Regions from separate parts of the Homo sapiens genome. Here all the other regions are linked to region 2. The links are contacts of gene promoters, found by promoter capture Hi-C in human tissues and cell types (Jung and others, 2019). All regions are on one chromosome and are shown on one strand. The core of a region is centred on a gene start or on the middle of the fragment in contact, and the rest is flanking DNA. Distances in the headings are between cores, read along the strand shown. Region 1 overlaps TPX2 (TPX2 microtubule nucleation factor). Region 2 holds the start of COMMD7 (COMM domain containing 7). Region 3 has its middle 20 kb from the start of PLAGL2.

What was found. Contacts are between HindIII fragments. The study calls those that stand out against the background at their distance.
Region 1: a fragment that was not itself captured here is called in contact with the fragment with the promoter of COMMD7 in region 2 in 1 of the 25 tissues and cell types used here (aorta).
Region 3: a contact is called between a fragment that was not itself captured here and the fragment with the promoter of COMMD7 in region 2, in 1 of the 25 tissues and cell types used here (mesenchymal stem cells).

The regions. Positions count from the first base shown.
Region 1 is chr20:31,771,025-31,774,798 of GRCh38, reverse strand. TPX2 (TPX2 microtubule nucleation factor) reads right to left here. Exons shown (of 18, transcript NM_012112.5): 7 at 3,117-3,239. Among named protein-coding and RNA genes, the nearest start is that of TPX2, 34 kb to the right of the region's middle. The HindIII fragment of the contact is 9,779 bases long and covers 1-3,774 here.
Region 2 is chr20:32,742,101-32,745,825 of GRCh38, reverse strand. It overlaps COMMD7 (COMM domain containing 7), which reads left to right and starts at 2,359. Exons shown (of 9, transcript NM_053041.3): 1 at 2,359-2,518. The coding sequence starts at 2,435. RefSeq lists enhancers at 864-1,808, 2,696-3,523 and silencers at 2,104-2,333, 2,514-2,583, 3,568-3,725. The HindIII fragment of the contact is 4,810 bases long and covers 1-3,275 here.
Region 3 is chr20:32,185,685-32,189,433 of GRCh38, reverse strand. It overlaps the pseudogene TSPY26P. Among named protein-coding and RNA genes, the nearest start is that of PLAGL2, 20 kb to the left of the region's middle. RefSeq lists an enhancer at 365-1,180. The HindIII fragment of the contact is 3,734 bases long and covers 154-3,749 here.

The DNA.
Region 1 (3,774 bases), core at 224-2,723, 970 kb after region 2:
GCCCTGTCTCAAAAACAAAAACAAAAAAAGACCAGTAGAATGAGGAAAGTATCTACAACCTAGGGTTAATACACATAAAACACATGTAACAGAAGGAAGAAACTCAGAAGTAAAGCCGACTAAATCCCAACCCTGTCATTTCATTTGCTGCCTATAATGATCTTGAGAAAACTATTTAACTTCCCTGAGCCTCAGTTTTCCCCACTGTGAAATGGGAGTGTAAATACTCATGTTCACATCCTATTTATGACTGTTCAATCAGATGATGTCTCTGAAGTGCTTGACACATGGTAATGTTCAACACAGAGTATCCATTCTTAGTAAGGAAAATATCACCAAGGACACTTATAGGCAAATAAGGTTACCAATAAGAAAAAAAATAAAAAGGAAACAGATAATTCACCCAAGAGGAAATATGGAAAAATGTTTACAATAGTAGCAGTAATACAATCTTGTCAGCAAATACATAAAAATTAAAATAATTTGATGCTGGGGGTTGGGGGAAATGGGGAGATGACGATTAAAGAGTACAACAAATCTCAGACAAGAGGAAAAAGATTTTTCTTTTGCTCTACTGCACAGGGTGGAGGATATCATTAGTAATCGTAATACACTAAGAGAATAAATTCCAGCCAGGCGCGGTGGCTCATGCCTGTAATCCCAGCACTTTGGGAGGCTGAGGCAGGTGGATCACCTGTCAGGAGTTTGAGACCAGCCTGGCCAACGTGGTAAAACCCCATCTCTACTAAACATACAAAAATTAGCTGGGTATAGTGGCAAGTGCCAGTAATCCCAGCTACTCGGGAGGCTGAGGGAGGAGAATCACTTGAACACGGGAAGCGGAGGTTGCAGTAAGCTGAGATCTCACCACTGCACTCCAGCCTGAACAACAAGAGAGAAACTCCATCTCGATAAAAAAAAAAAAAAATCCAAATGTTCTCACTACAAAAAGTGGTAAGTATTTGAGGTGACAGATATGTTAATTAGCTAGATTTAATTATTCCAAATTGTAGTCATGAATCATAACATCACTTTGTACTGTATAAATATATACAACTATAAATTATCAATTTACAATTAAATTTTTAAAATAATAATTTCATGCCATCTATATGAATTTAAAAAAAGAAACAATTTTATAAGTTAATAAACAATGCAGATGAGATAATAAGAAAATAAAAATATTCATTCAAAGCCAATGGCACTTCAGGCCAGGCATGGTGGCTCACACCTATACCCAGCACTTTGAGAGGCTGAGGCGGGCAGATCACTTGAGGTCAGGAGTTCGAGACCAGCCTGGCTAACATCATGAAACCCCATCTCTACTAAAAATACAAAAATTAGCCGGGGCCAGGCATGGTGGCTCACACCTGTAATCCCAGCACTTTGGGAGGCTGAGGCAGACAGATCCCTTGAGGTCAGGAATTCAAGACCAGCCTGGCCAACATGGTGAAACTCCATCTCTACTAAAAATAAAAAATGAGCCAGGTGTGGTGGCAGGTGCCTGTAATCCCAGCCACATGGGAGACTGAGGCAGAAGAATTGCTTGAACGTGGGAGGCAGAGGTTGCAGTGAGCCGAAATCGTGCCACTGCATTCCAGCCTGGGCAACAGAGCGAGACTCCGTCTCACAAAAAAAAAAAAAAAAAAAAAAAATTAGCCGGGTGTGGTGATGCATGCCTATAATCCCAGCTACTCAGGAGGCTGAGGTAGGAGAATCACTTGAACCCAGGAGGCGGAGGTTGCAGTGAGCCAAGATTGCGCCACTGTACTCCAACCTGGGTGACAGGGTGAGACTCCATCTCAAAAAAAAAAAAAAAAAAAAAAAGCCGATGGCACTATAAATTGGTACTTCCATTTCAGAAGTAAAATTGGCAATAAATATCAACACTGACAAAACTGGTCATACCCTGTGGGGAATTTCTCCTTCCTTATTCTGAGAAGATCACTCAAAGAAATGGTTCTGCCTATAAAGTTGTTGACTGAGTACTTATAATCATGAAAAGCTGGAAACTACATTTTCAACAGAAAATAGTTAAATATATTTTGATAGAATATTAACAATCTATCAAAAAAGGATAAATGTGAAAATTTTGTAGCAGCACAGAAACAAAATCTGAAATAATCTCATGGCAAGTCAATAAAGCAGAACCCAAGGTTTTGTATTAACTGATTGTGAAAATATGTATGCTGGCTTGGGTAAAATCCAGCAGGGAGGTTGGAAAAATAAAAAATGTTCAATCTACGTGGTAAGAACTGTTGCTAACTTTTTCCTTTTATATTTCTTTTAAATTTGCTTCAACAGTATATTTTTCTGACTGTTCAAGATCTGAGCACCAGCCAGCACTGTGGCTCAAATCTGTAATCCCAGCACTTTGGGAGACCAAGGCAAGAGGACTGCTTGAGGCCAGGAGTTTGAGAGCCTGGGCAACATAGTGAAATCCCATCTCTACAAAAACATGTAAAAGTTAGCCAGGTAGGCTGGGCACAGTGGCTCACACCTGTAATCCCAGCACTGTGGGAGGCCAAGGTGGGCAGATAACTTAAAGTCAGGAATTCGAGACCAGCCTGGCCAACATGGTGAAACCCCATCTCTACTAAAAATACAAAAATTAGCCGGGTGTGGTGGTGCACACCTGTAATCCGGGCTACTCGGGAGGCTGAGGCAGGAGAATTGTTTGAACTCGGGAGGCAGAGGTTGCAGTAAGCCAAGATCATGCCACTGCACTCCAGCCTGGGAAACAGAGTGAGCCTCTGTCTCAAAAAAAAAAAAAAAAAAAGTTAGCCAGGCATGATAGTGCATGCCTATAGTCCCAGCTACTTGGGAGGCTGAGGTGGGAGGATCACGTAAGCCCAGGAGGTCAAGGATGCAGTGAGCCATGATTGCATCACTGCACACCAACCTAGGCAACAGAATGAGGCCCTGTCTTTAAAATTAATTAATTAAATAAAAATTTAAAAATCTGAGCACCCATCAGGACACATGTAACAATTCACCTCACCATGGTCAAAGCTTCAGGAGTTTGCCAACCTCCAGGTACACCAAACAGGTTGTAGATGTAAATCTGTAATTTTATACCATTCATTCTAAAGTTTAAATTCAGGAAAGAAACTTACTTTGCAGGTGGCATACAAGGCACAGTATGTCTACCCTTGGCTTTCTCTGGGGAAGATGCATTCTTTTCAGCAGTATCTTGATGAGCACTGCCTTCTTCCTCTGGCTTCTTTTTGTTGTTAGAACTTGAGTTCAAAAGGACAAAAAATATGTTTTCAATTCCCTGAAGCATAGCCTGTACCCTCCTCCCCAAATCTACTGCATATGGATTAAATTTTCTCATTCTATAGGATAACAAGCATGCTTCGACCACATGATTCTTCCAACAGTATCATTAGATCATATATATTAATGGCTTCAATGAGTAAACTTTGAGAAAGCCAACCGCTATCAAGATAAGAGTTATCTAGTGGTGGTTTGGAAGAGTAAGGAGGGACTCTAACTGCTCACCATCAAATGATCAAATGGCAGAGTTAATTGCCATCCCAATATCTATTCTGTCTCTTTCTCATTAACAAAACCCCAATTTCGGGAGGAGCAGCAACGCACTAAGCTACAAGTAAGTATTGTACTTGCCTCAACAGCCTCTACTGCAACTAGGGAATCCAAGTGACACAAGTCTAGGCGAATGAAATGAAATTTAAGGGTTGCTGCGAAAGACTTAAGTTTCCTGATATAGATGCTGCCCTTTTTCCTTTACTGTACTCTTCTTCTTCTCTT
Region 2 (3,725 bases), core at 1,110-3,609:
AAAAGTTGGGCCAGGTGCGGTGGCTCGCGCCTGTAAACCCAGCACTTTGGGAGGCCGAGGCAGGCGGATCACCTGAGGTGGGGAGTTCAAGACCAGCCTGACCAACATGGAGAAACCCGTCTCTACTAAAAGTACAAAATTAGCCGGGGTGGTGGCACATGCCTGTAATCCCAGCTACTTGGGAGGCTGAGACAGGAGAATCACTTGAACCCGGGAGGCGGAGGTTGCAGTGAGCCGAGATCTCGCCATTGCACTCCAGCCTGGACAAAAAGAGCAAAACTCCGTTTCCAAAAAAAAAAAAAAAAGACAAAAGTTAGCTGGGTTTGGTGGTGGCCACCTGCATTCCCAGCTATTCGGGAGGCTGAGGCTGGAGAATCACTAGAACCCGGGAAGCAGAAATTGCAGTGAGCCGAGATTGTGCCACTGCACTCCAGCCTGGGTGACAGAGCCAGAATCTGTCTCAAAAAAAAAAAAAAAAAAAATTCTTGCACGGTGAGTAGGGCCTCTGAGTTCCTGTCTGTTTGTCACCCGAAGGTTTATTCTCTTCCAGGTACTCCAAACTCGGACTGTGTCCTGTACACATTCTCAAAGCACCTCCTACTTTTTGGCATCCCTTAATACTTTCACACACACTTGCGTCTGCCCCCTGGGTCAATTCTGACTTCTCAGAGGCCAGGCACTGCATCTGGTTCATCTGGTTGTGTCACTGTGGAATCCCCACCCCCTATCATGTCATGGTATCTGCCTCACAGCAGACCTTCTTTTTTTTTTATGGAGATGTGGTCTTGCTCTGTCGCCCAGGCTGGAGTGCAGTGGCGCCATCTGGGTTCACTGCAGTCTCGATCTCAAGATCTCAAGTGATCCTCTTGCCTCAGCCTCCGAGTAGCTGGGACCACAGGCATGTGCCACTCAATATTTGTTGAATGAATGTATGAATGATATAATGACTGAAGGGGATGGGCTTGGCCTTTGGGTAGAAGACTTTTTTGTTTTTTCTTTGAGACGGAGTTTCGCTCTTGTTGCCCAGGCTGGAGTGCAATGGCGCGATCTCGGCTTACCGCAACCTATGCCTCCCGGGTTCAGGGAATTCTCCTGCCTCAGCCTCCCGAGTAGCTGAGATTACAGACATGCACCACTACGCCCGGCTAATTTTGTATTTTTAGTAGAGACGGAGTTTCTCCATGTTGAGGCTGGTCTCAAACTCCTGACCTCAAGTGATCCGCCCGCCTCAGCCTCCCAAAGTGCTGGGATTACAGGAGTGAGCCACCGCGCCGGGCCGGGTAGAAGACATTTTGTTTATACTTTTACAGAAGGGATTTTCAGGAAAGGGTAGAGGAGAGGAGGAGGGCTGGTGAGGAAGGCCAGCCAAACCCCCCACATTTCCCTGCTCCAGGTTTCTCGGCATTACCTCTTTACCCTCAAGGCTGGACTTAGGGGCTAGGTGAAGCCCTTAGGCTTGGCGTTCAGTTCCTAGATTCTGGGTAGCATGTCTCTATTTTCTCATGTTTCCAGTGGGGATTAGGGTAATATTCACCTGGGAACTGTGAGGAGCCCCTGGGAAGAGAGGGCATGGGGGTTAGAGTGTTTGAGGGGCTGCAGTGATGATCACGGTCTCAGTAACCTCCCCTCACCCACCTCACCACCACCCTCCCTGCCCCGCACAGTCAAAGCCCTCGCACTATTTTGAGGAAACTTTGGTAAGTCAGTTTCTTCCACTCCAGAAGGTCTCAAAGTGTAGTCCCTGGGTGCTTATTGGAAATGCAAATTCTCAGGCTCCACCCTGGCCTTTCGAATCAGATCCTCTGGGGGCGGGGCCCGGCAATACCAGGTGATGCTGGGGTGATGCTGATGCCCTTCCAAGGTTGAGACCTAGTCTCTACTCTGATGTCAGCTCTCCGAGAGACACTCTGGCCTGCTTTGTTCCCTTCCCTGTCCCCAGTGTCTGGCATCGAGTAGGCTGCCATAAATATCTCTGGAGTGCATAGTAACAGTGATGATGATAATAGCAGCTAGCCATTGATTGAAGACCTCTTGTGTGCCGGTCTCTGCGTTAAACATTTCTGGAGGCTTAACTCATTTAAGGAGCTACCCCAGCCATCATTTTCTCAGATGGTGAAACTGAGGTTCAGAGAGGCCAAGCGCCGTACCCAAAGGTCACTCAGCGGGAGAGCTGGCAGGAAACCTCGCGTCTGCCGGTGCCGGCGCCGCCCCTGCCCCTCCCCGGAGCCCGGCGGCCGCGCGTGTCCGCGGCCCTGCGAGGGCTCCCCGGCTCCGGACAGCCCAGGGCGGCCGGGGGAGGAGTGCGCTGCGACGGCCGTGGCGAAAGTGCGGTTGTGGATGCGCGGAGAGGCCGGCAGCGGTGGCAGCGGCAGCGGAGGAGGAAGCTGAGCAGGGCGGCGGCGGCGGTGGAACCTGCGGGGCTGGGGCGCGCGCCATGGGCCGCCTGCACTGCACTGAGGACCCGGTGCCGGAGGCCGTGGGCGGCGACATGCAGCAGCTGAACCAGCTGGGCGCGCAGGTGGGCCCGGCGGCGGGGCGTGGGGCGCGGGGCCCAGGTGATTCCAGGATCCGGGCCTGGGGTGGGGGGGACGTCCGGGGGTGCGCGGGAGTTGGGAGAGACTAGACAGAGCGGCGTCTTGTGGGCGTTTGGGGTGTGTGAGGTGGGTTCGGGGCGAGGCTAAGGTGAGCTGGGGTCTGAGGAGAGTGTGGGGAGCCAAGGGATCTCCGGAGGCCTAAGGGCCACCTGAGGGGTCCGAAAGGCTTTGTGGGGTCTCAGAGATGGGACTACGGGACCTCTGCGGGGTCCTGGGGCCGAGGAGAGCTTTTGGGGTCCTAGAAGAGGGACGGAGGGGAGTCTAGATGAGGCTGAAGGAGTTTGGGGAACTGAAGGAACAGACTAAGGGCGTGGGGAGTTTTGGGGAGCAGTGGGGTCCAAAGGGAGATAGATGTTTGGCAGGGAGGCCGAGGAAGCCTGAGGGGAGTGGGAGGGCCCGAGAATCTGAGGGGGCCCGGGGAAGCTTGGCCTGGGCTGCCGTCTTACATCTCAGTGTGACATGAGTGTCAGTAATAGCCAGGCCCCACTGGGGCTCTGTGGGCCTGAGGGGCTCGATCTGGGACAAGGCTGATGACACCTTCCACCTCCACCCAGTTAAGGAGAGTCACTGGGATTCACATGGAAAGAAACCTTATACACTGTGTACAGTGGGGGTCTTCATCCTCGATGGTAGGGGAGCTAGCAAAGCCTTTTTCTCCCCCTTCAGGCTGCAGGTGCCAACCAAGGCAGTCTTGGAGGCATCCTGCTTCTGTGCTGGTTGGGATGCCTTTTCATACCACCAAGGCTGCTGAAATAGGTGAGAATGACACTTCTCACCCCCACTGGGAAGATACATCTATTTCCCCCGCTAGGTTGTCACTTCCCAGGAGGTAGCGCCCCTCTTCTTTCATCTCCATACCCCCCACAACTTCCCACACAGTAGTGCTGCTTGCGAGATAAAAACCAAACTTAGAACTTGTAACGACAGGAAGGTTCTAAGCTTGAGCTATGCAATAGAAAAATTTGCAAGCCACATTTCTAACTTTGCATTTTGTAGTAGCCACATTTAAAAATTAAATAGAAATGGAAATTAATTTTTTTTTTTTGAGACGTAGTCTCATTCTGTCACCCAGGCTGGAGTGCAGTGGCGCGATCTCGGGTCACTGCAACCTCCGCCTCCCAGGTTCAACCA
Region 3 (3,749 bases), core at 771-3,270, 560 kb after region 2:
ACCCCCGGCCCTCGTACACAGGAACCGGGACACTGTCCGAAGCTTCTTCAGCTGGTTTTCACAGCACAGCCTCCCAGAGGCCGACAGGGTTGCCCAGATTATTAAAGATGACCTGTGGCCCAACCCCCTGCAGTACTACCTGCTGGGGGATAGGCCCTGCAGAGCCAGGGGAGGCCTCGCAAGGTGGCCCACGGAGACCCCTTCTAGGCCCTACGGGTTCCAGTCTGGCTAAGTGCTGCCTTGGGATGTGCGGCCTACATAAGCTTCCTCATGCCTCCTACGGGTGGCGGATCTGGGCTCAGGCCCATGGTGGGCGCTCTGTTGTCTGCTGTCTGCTGTCTGCTGTCTGCTGTCTGTTCTGTGCACTCCCGCTCTGCGTGGTTCGGTGGACTCAGCTCTCAAATTGTGGCCCTCGTGGCCAGTCTCTACTGTTTCCATATGGCCTCTTGCTGTTCTGTGTTAACATCACGTGGCTGTCACATGCCGCTGCGTCTACACTAAGCACCCAGTGCTGTGGATGTGCACTGCCATAATCTTTACGGCATGGACCTGTGACCGTGGCCATCCCAGCCATTTTTGACAAGGGTACCCACAAGTCACTACTTGGAGGACAGTGCCTCTTTGAGGCCTATGCTTCAAGACTCCAGCCTGCCGGCCTTCGCATGCTTGCTGGTCGTGCTCACAGTAGCTCTCTACACCCTGGCTGTGGCAAACTGAGTCTCATCACCCAAGATGAAGTGGCTTCATTTGGTGCCGGGTGCCACCCAGGCTTGGACATTCCATGGCCTCAAGACCACAGGCTACCACCAAGTGGACTCTTGGGTATCTGGCAGGATGAGCACACAGCTGGCTGCTGGGCATGGGTGAGGTCAAGGGCATGAAGCAGTGGACAGCACATTCTTTGTGATCATACTGCTCCTCCTGCCCCACGGTGGCCTGACATCACAGCCTGCTGCTAGCTTATGAGGGTCTGTGCCGTGCCCCACCAATGCCTAGCCATCTCCTTTCCCATGAGTTTTGCCCAGACCACCATCAGCCCTGTTGCCCGCCCCCAGGTCTACAGGAACCTCCATAGCCGCTTGTGGACCCAGGTGGGCCACCTGCCAATGCACAGGAGAGCCCCTAATCCCCAGGAACTCTGCCAAACTGGCCTATCTGGGCATGTGAGTGAGGCAGGGGCAAGGATGGGATCCCCTCCTGAGCCCCAGTTACTGGACCCCACAGAATCCAGGTGCTCTGCCAGCCCCCCTGCCTCTACCTGTTAGGCTGCCAAGCTGTGGGTGCTGGGGAGGGGGTCTTCCTGGTCCTGGGGCCTGTCTATCCATACCCAGATCTCACACCATTTTTTTCTTTAAATGATGGCTTAGAAACAAAAAATAACAACTGAAGAAAAAGATTTTTTCTTAAACTCAACAAGAAAGACTTTCGTGTTCAGTTTGCCTCTCTTCGTCTCCAGAGAGGGAGGGTTTGCCCTGTAGACTGCCAGCATTCTCTCTTCCCCTATACCTTACCCTCTTTAGCAAGGCCTAGAATCTTCCAAAGGGGACAGTCCAAGGCTGCTGAACAGAGAGACCAGGAAGTCCCCAGAGCGGGGATAGTTAATATTCCATTTTATGCTGTGTTCTTTTAGACTAACCCCAACTCTTTCTTACCCTTCCACCAAGTCCGAACCCCTCTAGGTATAAGAGCTGAGCTGCCCACCCCCTCCTCCCCCTGCTTGCAGAGCTGTCTGTCTCCATTTCATTTTAGGGGAAGGGGTGGTAGTGGCCATACCCAGGCCCCTTCCCATGGAAGGCCTTATCTTCTGTTCCCTAGGACCTGGGGAGGCCTTATCACAAAATAATGTGGAGGGTGCTTTTGGCAGGGAAGTACAAAAGGAACCAGAGCCAGCTGAAAAGGCAGGATGGCTGAGAGATGGTAGAAGGAGGAGAGCCCTTGATTTTGGTTAATACATAGAGACAGGGTCTCACTATGTTGCCCAGGCTGGTCTTGAACTCCTGGGCTCAAGCGATCTGCCCACCTTGGCCTCCCAAAGTGCTAAAATTATAGGTGTGAGCCACTGTGCCCATCTGATTTTTTTTTTTTCTTCAAGACAGGGTCTCACTCTGTTGCCCAGGCTGGAGTGCAGTGATGCATCATAGCCTCAAACTCCTGGGCTCAAGTAATTCTCCCATCTCAGCCTCCCAAGTAGCTGGGACTACAGGTGTATGCCACCATGCCCAGCTTTTTAAAAAACATTTTTGTAGAGACGGGGGTCTCGCTATGTTGCCCAGGATGGTCTTAACTCCTGGGCTCAAGGGATCCTCCCACCTTGGCCTCCCAAAGTGCTGGGATTACAAGTGTGAGCCACCGCGCCCAGCCCTTGCTAACATTTTTGATTCGCCAATATGTTTTGTAAACTAGAAGAATAACAGAACACTGCAACTTTAGAGGTTTTCTCTCTTGGTCCTACCTTGTGTATGTAGAAAGTTAATGTAAGCTTTTCTTCTGCTGCTTTTAAGTAAGACCCTATGCATCCCCTCCTGTGTTTCAGCCCACTGGGGCATTATGCTGTAAAGGCTTGCTTGTTGCTTTTAGTTGAGAACTTTTGCAAGATTGTCAGTGTACATTTTTTATGCCACTTGGAAACTTATGTGACTATTCACAATTGTTATCAGGTTGTTGGGGCCTTTACCATAATCTTGTACTTAGAAGCAGAGTTCTGGTTTTGTTGGACTTCAGACTGGAAGCTGTGCCTGTGTTCTGCAAGGATAACCTCCAGAAAGAATTCTGTGACCCTGATGGTCTTGATGATTTTGTGCCAGGTTGTAATTGACATCACTGTAACTGACAATGCTTCTTTTAAGCAGAGAAATATTCCTGAGGTGGCTTTGTCCAGTCACAAGGGGATCTGTGACACTTTTGTTTTCTATACGCATGATAAAAAATAAAAAATTGCCTGTCTGGGGAAAAAATAACTTAGATCATGTCACTTCCCCATCCAAAACCCTACACTGGTTAAAAATATGTATCTATAGGCCGGGCATGGTGGCTCACGCCTGTAATCCCAGCACTTTGGGAGGCTGAGGCGGGTGGATCACGAGGTCAGGATTTCGAGACCAGCCAGTAGGATTTCACCAGTAGTGAAACCCCATCCCTACTAAAAATACAAAAATGTGCTGGATATGGTGGCGGGTGCCTGTAGTCCCAGCTACTCAGGAGGCTGAGGCAGGAGAATCGCTTGAACCTGGGAGGCGGAGGTTGCAGTAAGCTGAGACCATGCCATTCGCCATTGCGCTCCAGCCTGGGTGACAGAGTAAGACTCCGTCTCAAAAAAAAAATTTATATATATATATATATAAAATTCCTTATTGCAGGCGACAAAGCCCTGCATTTGCTGGTCCCTCCCAACATCTCCCATCCACTTCTGCTTTGCTCTCTCTGTGCCCCCAACACTGGCCTCTCTCCTGTTCTTTAAACACACTAAGCATGTTCCAGCCTCAGGATTTTAGCACTTGCTTTTTTCCCTCTCCTAGCTAGGATTTTCCTCCTGCAGATATTCTCATCTCATGGCTCCCTCAATTCATTCAGTCCTCAAACGCCACTTCAGAGGCCTTCCCTGCCCAGCCTGTCCAAAATTAGCCTCTACCCCTCCCTTCATGATTTTTTCCATGTCACTTGTAACTCTCTGAAATGATTTTTTTTTTTCGTTTTTGAGACAGGGTCTCACTCTGTCACCCAGGCTGGAGTGCAGTGGTGCTATCTTGGCT